Linked DNA regions of Homo sapiens: regions 2 and 3 are each linked to region 1. Evidence: promoter capture Hi-C in 16 types of primary human blood cells and fetal thymus (Javierre and others, 2016). All regions are on one chromosome and are shown on one strand. The core of a region is centred on a gene start or on the middle of the fragment in contact, and the rest is flanking DNA. Distances in the headings are between cores, read along the strand shown. Region 1 holds the start of HAUS7 (HAUS augmin like complex subunit 7). Region 2 overlaps ZNF185 (zinc finger protein 185 with LIM domain). Region 3 has its middle 18 kb from the start of PNMA3.

Region 1 (3,009 bases), core at 256-2,755:
CCCATCTTCCCCAGGTGGGGCTGGCTGGCGCCCATGCACACCCCAGGTGGGAAGAGGAAGAAACTGATGCATTACCGGGTACACATCCACTCTAGGATCTCCAAGCGGTACTCTGAGGGGCTGCACAGCAGTTCCTGAATTGTCTTTGGCTCTGTGATATACAGACCCTCGAGGAAGGGGCAGTTTAGGTCCTAAGCAAGGAAAAGGAAAGCAACATTCACTGAAAGTCCCAGTGTACATCATTTCATTTTATTTATTTATTTATTTTTGAGACGGAGTCTCACTCTGTCGCCCAGCCTGGATGGAGTGCAGTGGCATGATCTCGGCTCACTGCAGCCTCCACCTCCTGGGTTCCAGCAATTCTCCTGCCTCAGCTCCCAGGGTAGCTGGGGGATTACAGGCATGCGCCACCACGCCCGGACAATTTTTGTATTTTTAATAGAGACGGAGTTTCACCATGTTGGCCAGGCTGGTGTCAAACTCCTGACCTCAGGTATCTGCCCACCTCAGCCTCCCAAAGTGGTGGGATTACAGGCGTGGGCCGCCGCGCCCAGTCCTCAGTGTACATCTGCAAGCTCCCAGGACCCTTTCCTTTACCCGCGTCCTGCCATCTTGCCAAGAGTTCAAGTCCCCCCATTCTTAACCCCACATCTCCCGCGGCATGCAGACCCCACCTCTTTCAAGTACTCCCACTCTGGGCTCTTGTGGCAGCAGGACCTAGGAGCAACGCCTGAGACTAAGACTTAAGAGAGAGTCCTAGGTTTCGGGACTGAGGGAAAGGGGAGAGGGAAAGGGAGAGGGACCACTGAGCCAGTCGCGGACAGGATGGGGGAGTGTCTGGGGGGAGGAGCGAGCGGGCCGAGGGGACCTGGGACAGCTCCCTAACCTCGTGGGCCAGCTTTCCTCACTGCTGCAGTGAGGGCTCTGTCCTGTGGGGCTGTAGAGGGCTTCTGGAGGCTATCACCCCTGGCATCTGACACCAACTGACACCAAGCCCTAGTCTCGCTGACTTGACAGAGTGGCACGAGGCTCTGCCCATCTGTCCCCCCAGACCCCGCAAGATCCCTAAGGCCAGGCCTGGGTCCTCTGTGTCTGCACTTGCTCCGAGCGCCCAGCGCGGGTACTGCAGTTCCACAGGCGGTGCTGGCCCCAACTACCAGGCACGGGCCGTGGAGACAGCAAGAACGAAGGCCTGGGGCACACCAAAGGGCAAAGATGAATGATCCACAAGCACCCCCTGCTGCAAGGGAACAGGGCGCAGCCGGAACCGGCGACGGTGGCCGCGTGGCGCCGCGGACTTCCGCAGCAAGCCCTCCCGGGCCTCGGGCGGGGCCCTCCCCGGTCCCCCGCCCTGGAGTGGCTTTCTGGGCCAACAGCACCTTCAGCTTCCCGAACACCTCCACAGCCGCCCTGGACACGCTGCTGTCGCCCTCGTCCTCTGAGTAGTCGTCGCCGCCACGGCCGCAGCCAGCGTCCTGCCCCGCCATGTTTCGCGCTCCGAGCCGCGCCCCGCCCATGCCCTGGCTTCACTGGCCGGCAAGACCGCCAATCAACCTCCAGCGTTCTTCCCGCCCACCCGCCTGCGCCCACCCCCTTCCCGACCGACCCTTCCCATTGGGCGACATCTCCGCCTGCGCGGGCCCCGGGCTCCCACCCCCCGCCCCGGCACCACCCAGAGGCAGGACCACAGTGAAGCGGGCAGGGCGGACACAGGGAAGGGGGCGGGGCGGACACAGGGAAGGGGGCGGGGCGGACACCGGGAAGGAGGCGGGGCGGACACCGGGAAAGGGGCGGGGCGGACACCGGGAAGGGGCGGGGCGAACGGGCCAAGCTGGCTCTGAGTCGCAGGCCTTGCTGGCGTCGCCCCTGCTGCCGGCCGGGAATGATGATGCGTTGAAGCGAGGCTCTTCCAGGAGGGGGCGCTCCTGCCTTGGTCGGGTTCTCCTGGGCCACCACCACTAAGGGGCACCCTGGTTCCCAGGAGGACCAAGGGGAGCCTTGGGTGCAGAATGGAACTCGGACTGAAGCGTTCCTCTCCCAGCGCGGGGCTCCGTCTTCTCTTCACCATGCTCACGCTGTAGTTAGAAGGAAATTTCTTGTCACTCACCAGCTGTGTGCCTTTGAACCAGTTACCTAACCTCTCTGTGCCTCTTTGCCCTCACCTAATGGAGCTAATGAGAGCACCTTACCCACTGGGTTGCTAATGAGGATGGCAGGCGGTAATAATTCCTGTGGAATCCCTAGAACAGTGCCCGGCGCATGCGAAGAACCACGTAAATGCTCACTATTGTAATACATGCTGGGCCCTGCTCCCCTCACGGCTCCTGGGGCTACCTGTGGCTCCTTCCTATCCTGTCTACTTAACAAATTTTTCTACATCCCTCAGGACCCTCAAACTCAATGCGTCTGCAATGAAATATGTCAGTCGCTCCTCCCCCAGACCTGCAAAGCCCCCAGTTCACTGAATGCCCCTTACCCAGGGACCTGCTGATTGGGCAAGGCAGGAAGGAGTTGGAGGGTGGCTTGTGCCCAGTAGCCAGGAGACAGCAGCAGGCAGCTGCCACTGTGCCCTCCTCTGTGCCCTACCCTGCCATCTCCTGGAGGGTGGGATCAGGGGGCAAGTCTATAGTCAGGGAGACCCAGGGACCTGCTGGGAGGCAACTGCAGTCATCCAAGTGACAGGAGGGGACTTCACTCCGTCCTGGGAGGAGGGAGCGGGCAGGAGTCCGGGGGTCACAGGAAGGGACCTCAGCCTGGGAGGCCCCGACACAGGCCCAGCGAAGTGCCTCAAGGTTGCTCTCTACCCTTCCACGTGGCTGCTGCCTCAGGCCCTTCTGGTAGCTGAGGGCTGTCAAAGGCTTTGGGATTTTTTTTTAAGCGTTTTTTTCCCTCTTTTTTGTTTTTGTTTTTCTTTCTTTCTTTTTAGAAAATTTCATCTCAATCACAGCCCCAGCTCAGACATTCAAATTCTTGTGGGTTTTTCTGTGGATCTTTCCTAGGACTGGGGAA
Region 2 (3,009 bases), core at 176-2,675, 510 kb before region 1:
GAGCTGCAGTTGATGATGGTGAAAGAAGGTGCACGTGTCTTTTGAGAGCTCCCTTTGTTCCCCAGAGATTTTTTTTTCCCAAAGTGGCCATGAGTTTGGGAATAACCAGGAGCCATGGGCCGCCGGCTAGAGATGCTGCATACTAAGAGCCTCCTGTGAGCAGCCATGTACACAGTGAACACGATGGCTAAGGCCCCATCCAGCCGCCCTCAAAGAGCACATAGTCCACTAAGGAATAAGCATGATCGTAATAACCATTAGCACCTGCTGTGTGCTGAGAATGTGCAGGCACTGTTCTGCATGCCTTATGTGGACTCACTCATTTAATTCTCACACCAACTCAAGGAGGTGCTTTTATTATGGAGAAACTGAGGCAGATGGAGGTTAAGTAATTTGCTGGCAGTTTTGCAGCCAGGAAGTGGCCTAACCGAGATTAGAATCCAGACAGAGATCAGAGCCTGTACTGTTCATCGCTGTGGCATCCATACTGCCCCTCCATTTGTGATAAGCCCAGGAAGGAAAGAAACCAGGTGCTCTGATGGAGAGGGGTTAGAGCAAGGATGGTTAGGGAAAGCTTTTCTATCGAGGAGGAGACAGTTCGGCTGAGACCTGAAACATCTGGAGGAGCCTGCCTTCCAAAGAACCTGGGGAGAGGCATTGTGGACAAAGAAGATAGGGAGGAGGGCCTGAACAATGAGCCCTGTGCTTGGAGGGTACGGGGTGAGGTGAGCAGGGGGCAGGAGCTGGGCCCTGTAGGGTCTTGTAGGTGAGGGAGAGGAGGCTATTGGGAGGGCTCCTATTGCTCACATTGCAGTCCTGGGGGGATGCCCAGGGCATTTTTTCTTTTTTTTAAGAGGCGGTGTTTCACTGTGTTACCCAGGTTGTTTTTGAATTCCTGGCCTCAAGTGATCTTCCTGCCTCAGCTTCCCAAGTAGCTCCAGGGAATTTCTGTTTTACCTTGCCTCTTCAGTTGCGCCGTCCCCTTCAGTATTCTGCTGACATGGATCACAGGATACCAGACACCTGGTAGTTGTTCAGTCAGTAGGAGGTCTTCCTTCCTTCCTCTTAGAATCAATCCTTTTCTCACTTGTTGGCTCTGCATTTTATCCCCCGTGTATCTTTTCAGATTTTTGTGGGGCCTCCTCTCCCATCCAGTCCACCTTCTCCAGTCTCTATGGTATATTTCTTTGTCATAGGGTGAAGCAGGAACAGGTACAGGATGATTGGGTACACTGAGGTGAGGTAGGAGGGCAGGCCCTCAGGAAGGGCTTCCCAGAGGAGGTGATATTGTCTGCAAAGGCATATGAGAGCCTGGAAGTCCAGGGGAACTGCAGGCTGGTCTGTACGGCTTGAGTGGCACGTGATACAGTTTGAGACTATGAGGCGAGAGAGCTAGGCAGATGCTAGACCATGATTGTTCTTCCCTTTCCCCACTCTTCAACTAGTTGTAATCTTAGGCATTGGATTCTCTGGCAAGGGGACAATACCCAGTAGCCTGGGCCAGATGGAGGCAGCCATATCTGGAGTATGATCTGAGCCACAGCATGTTGGAGAAAAGCCAGAATCAGCCCAGGGCAGTGTGCACCCATAGTGCTGGCCTCAGGCCTTTGGAGGGTGAGCAGACTTAAGTTGGAAGGTGCAAACAAGTGGTCAGTGGTGCTGCCCAACATCGTGCCCTGAACTGCAGTTGACAGCTACGGCAGCTTTGGTAATGAGGCTCATAGCCTGGGGGCAGGCAGAGTGAGAGCCGATATTGGCTTGGCCAGAGAAAAGCCCTTTTGGGCTGCCGAGGAGGTTGGATTCCAGGCCAAGGGCCATATCTGGCAGCTGAAGTGTGGAGGTTCAGAAAAACTTCGACACCGGTCAGTTTCCCGCCTCTGCTGGGAATGAGGTGCATCTGACTTTCCTCCTCAATGATGCCTAATTTCATTTGGTCCTCTGCCCCTTGGCCTTGTGTTCTCTAGAGAGTTCCCTGCAGGGTGGCAGAAGGAGCTGATCCTAGTAAGGGACCGTCCCATCCAGTGAGGAGGTGAGCTGGGCTGTGTCTTCCCCTTCTGCACCCTCCTGACTGTCACATCCCCGGGAGCCCCATGATTCCACTCTAACTGAGTGAATCACAGAGGCCAAGGCCCTTGGCTGCAGTCAGGAGTACTGAGTGGACACTGGAAGATTGGGGTCTTGCTACTGACTCACGATGTGACCTGGGACATGTCTCAACTCACCTAGCCTGGGTTTGCTTATCTGTAAAGTGAGAAGTTCCATTTGTTGGTCTTGGAGGAAGCTTCAAGAGCAGTGCTCAAGGGTTAGGCTCAGAAAAGCCTGTTTGACCCTGGAAGGTGTCAGCTCCCAGGTTGACGTGCCCACCCCTCCCTTTATTTCTTTCAGGGTGAGGAGCCCCTCGAGCTGCATGGTCACTGTTACTGTCACTGCCACATCTGAGCAGCCTCACATTTATATTCCAGCCCCCGCAAGTGAATTGGACTCCAGCTCTACCACGTAAGAAGGGCTATCTAGCAACCTGGGAGATGTTCCTCCGCCACTTCCTCCTTGGCGGTAAAGGACTTGGCTTTTGTTCCATGTTGCTTCCCATTTAGTGCCTTCCCCAGTTTCTAGCAGGCCATTAGCCAAGGGGCCACACAGGACAGTGTTAGTCCCCTAATATAAACTCCCATCTACCGGGCCTAGACATTCCCACACCTCCTTTTTCCTATCTCTGTAAGAGGCTGCAGTGGTACTTCCTAGTGCACTAGTGGATGTGGCTCTGCCATTCATGGGTCCATGCCTGGGAAGCCAGCTCCAGTCCGTGAAGGCCGGGCCTGTGAGGGCATTCCTGTGTTACTGTAAAGGAATACCTGAGGCTGGGACATTTATAAAGGAAAGAGGTTTAATTGGCTCACAGTTTGGCAGGCTGCACAAGCATGGCACCAGCAGCTGCTTGGCTTCTGGCAAAGGCCTCGGGAAGCTTATAATCATGGTGGAAGCCGAAGTGGGAGCAGGACCATCACATGG
Region 3 (3,009 bases), core at 325-2,824, 430 kb before region 1:
CATGTGGCTAGATGAAGGAGGAGGAAAAGGCCTGAATATTGCTTATGAATGGTTTGGCTCAGTCTCTGAAATGGACAGCAGCTATATTCCAGCCACACCCACCTAGGGACGTCCCTGAAAGACAGTGGGGAGGGAAGATCTTCCTGATGGGTGGAGCTTTAAGGTGTGCACCTTATCATCCACTTTGTGTGGAAGAAGTGGCCCAGGGTAGGAATATGCACAGATTTCTGAGCAGTGGCCAATGGACTAGCCAAAGGTCTAAAAAGGAAAGGACTGGAAAACTGGAGACAAGGAAGTCTGGGGTAGAGGCATATGGATAAACATGGGAGTGAGCATGAAGGAAAAGCTTACGTCACATACAAGTGCCCACCAGAAAGCATCAACAGTAGAAGAGGAGCTGAACTGTCAAGTGCACAAAATGACTCAGCAAGTTGGATATTAGCCACCCTTCACCATCAGCCAGTCCAGAACTGACACAATGGGCACATAAACAGATGGGCCACAGTGTGAGAGATGGAGACTGCTCACGGGCCCAGAAGCATGGAATCCTACTTAACAAGGCCTTTATTGCTGCTACTAGCTCTGAAGGTCCAGTCTTCCAGTGAAAGAGACCAATGCTGAGACCCCAATATGGCACCATTTCTCCATGTTGGGTCCATTATCTCTTAGAAGAGACATCCATTCTTTCTTACAAGGACAGAAACCTATTCTGAGTATGGGTTTTCCTTTCCTCCTGGCAGAACTTCAGCTAACATCACTATCCAGGGGCTTTCAGAGTGCATGACCTGCAGACCTGGAATCCCACACAAGAAGGTATCCTACCAAGGGACACACTTCAGAGTGAAGGAGGTATGTGCATGAGCCCATGAGCATGGGATAGTCTGGTGTCACACTGTGCCACCCAGAAGCTACTAGCTTGATAGAGTGTTGGAATGGCCTTCTGGAGGTGTAGCTGGAGCACAGGCTTAGAGGCAATACCCTACAAGGATGAGGCGCCATCCTCCAGGATGCAGTATATGCACTGTGTCAGAGATGTCCATGTGGCACTGTGTCCCCAGTAGGAAGAATACATGGGTCTGGAAGCCATAGGGTGGAGGCCAAAGTGGCCTCACTTTCCATCTTTCCCAGTGACCTACTCAGGGGCCAACATTGTGCTTCCCATCTCCTTAAATCTAGGCTCTGCAGGGTAGAGGTTCTGGTTCTTTGCACTCTTATCAGGACATACAGCCTGGGTTCCAGTTGTACTTATAGCCACCACTGCTGCCTGGCATTTTGGGGTTCCTTGATTCCAGACACCAGCAAGCAGGAAGAATCATCATGGTGGTGGGAGTAATAGAGAATTATCAAGGAAGAGGTAAGACTGCTGTTATATAATAGAGGCAGAGAGGAATATGCTCGGGACTCAGATGATCTTTTCTAGTGACTTTTGGTACTCTTTTGCCTCATTGGCTGTAAGTGATCAAGTACAGTGTGAGTGGCCTAAGAAGGGTATGGATACGAGGGACTCAGACCACTCAGGGATGAAGGAAGCTGCCAAAACTGCAGAGGTTATAGTTGAGGGTGAGGGAAATCTAGAATGGATAGTGGAAGAGGGTAATCATAAATACCTGTTGCAGTTGCAGGACCAACTGCACTGATGGGGCTTGTACTTTGTCCCGCCAACTTCTCTCTTCTTCTTTTTCTTTTTTTTTTTTTTTTTTGAGACAGAGTCTCACTCTGTCACCCAGGCTGGAGTGCAGTGGTGCGATCTCTGCTCACTGCAAGCTCTGCCTCTCAGGTTCACACCATTCTCCTGCCTCAGCCTCCCGAGTAGCTGGGACTACAGGCCTGCCACCATGCCTGGCTAAATTTTTTTTTTTTTTTTGTATTTTTAGTAGGGACGGGATTTCACCGTGTTAGCCAGGATGGTCTTGATCTCCTGACCTCGTGATCTGCCCACCTCGGCCTCCCAAAGTGCTGGGATTACAGGCATGAGCCACCGCACCCGACTGCCAACTTCTAAGTTTACCTTCAGAAAGAGTGGCCCACAGGAGCCAAGGAGGAACTGCTTCCCGAGCAGCTATGGAGTAGTGGATCTGTGTGGCACAAAGGATGGCCTGTGGCAGCTATGGAAGTGCACTGCTTGGATGTCACTTTAAGAGAGGGCCTGTTATGAGGAGTGCAATTAGTTGACAGCATTCAGGTGGAATGTCTTCAGGGTCCAAGGCAGCATTTGAGGTGAGACCATGCTAGTTCCAGGCAGCTCCCTATCAGAGGCTTAGCACAGCAGGGTACTAGGGTCATTTTTGCTCAGTGTGGGACTCCTCTATGGGCCATCTTTGCATCAGAGCTCCCCGTTGGGCTGGCCAAGACTTTTTGAAAGCTGCACCACTGTCTGAGACTCTTCCTTCCAATCCTTCCTTCTCCCTCTCTTTCCACTTGTGTTAGACCCGCCCTGTGGTCTGAAGGTTCTTCCTGCCTCTTTCTGTGTCCTCTCCCCTTTATCTTCTGTGATAATTTTTTTGCACTTCTAACTCCATCTTGACTTCCTGGAGGACCTGAACTGATGCATTTGATTTGGTTTTAGAGACAGCGCCTCCTTATCCTCCCTCCTGGGGAGGGTAGGAGAAAAGCCAAAGCACTCTTTGCTCCTAAAAATTTCCTTTAAAAATAACCTCTGACATGTTTAATCTCTTCAATAGCCTCGATGGAATGGTGTTTGCTGAATGGGCTTTGCCATCATTTAGTAAACTCAGGGAGTTTGTTGAAGGAATTTGAGGGCTGATCAAGGAAAAAGATATGACTGCAAGGGGCAGTAACACAACAAGCTTTATTCGGTGGCACTTGGACAGGGTTGCATAAGAGGGAAAGTCCTCACAGCACAAGACTATCCAGAGGTTTATGGATGGGCTAAGAGGCCACCACCTGGAAGGGAAGGAAGGCAAAGGGACTCACAGGGCAGAGGAGGAACAAAGAGGGAGCTTATGTGTCTGGGTGAGGTCAATCGGTACCACGTTGGAGAGTCTCTGC

The links. The method cuts DNA at HindIII sites, captures the fragments that hold promoters and counts their contacts. A CHiCAGO score of 5 or more calls a contact.
Region 2: a fragment that was not itself captured here is called in contact with the fragment with the promoter of HAUS7 in region 1 in 4 of 17 cell types (non-activated CD4 T cells, monocytes, naive CD4 T cells and 1 more); the score reaches 7.0 in non-activated CD4 T cells.
Region 3: a fragment that was not itself captured here is called in contact with the fragment with the promoter of HAUS7 in region 1 in 5 of 17 cell types (M1 macrophages, endothelial precursors, M2 macrophages and 2 more); the score reaches 7.6 in M1 macrophages.

Annotation. Positions count from the first base shown.
Region 1 is chrX:153,469,071-153,472,079 of GRCh38, forward strand. It overlaps HAUS7 (HAUS augmin like complex subunit 7), which reads right to left and starts at 1,506. Exons shown (of 10, transcript NM_001385482.1): 1 at 1,380-1,506; 2 at 76-191. The coding sequence starts at 1,487. RefSeq lists enhancers at 798-977, 1,128-1,227, 1,741-2,035 and a silencer at 1,558-1,867. The HindIII fragment of the contact is 16,714 bases long and covers 1-3,009 here.
Region 2 is chrX:152,961,454-152,964,462 of GRCh38, forward strand. ZNF185 (zinc finger protein 185 with LIM domain) reads left to right here. Exons shown (of 25, transcript NM_001395254.1): 20 at 2,386-2,496. Among named protein-coding and RNA genes, the nearest start is that of PNMA5, 31 kb to the right of the region's middle. The HindIII fragment of the contact is 1,707 bases long and covers 573-2,279 here.
Region 3 is chrX:153,036,933-153,039,941 of GRCh38, forward strand. No RefSeq gene overlaps it. Among named protein-coding and RNA genes, the nearest start is that of PNMA3, 18 kb to the right of the region's middle. The HindIII fragment of the contact is 2,461 bases long and covers 345-2,805 here.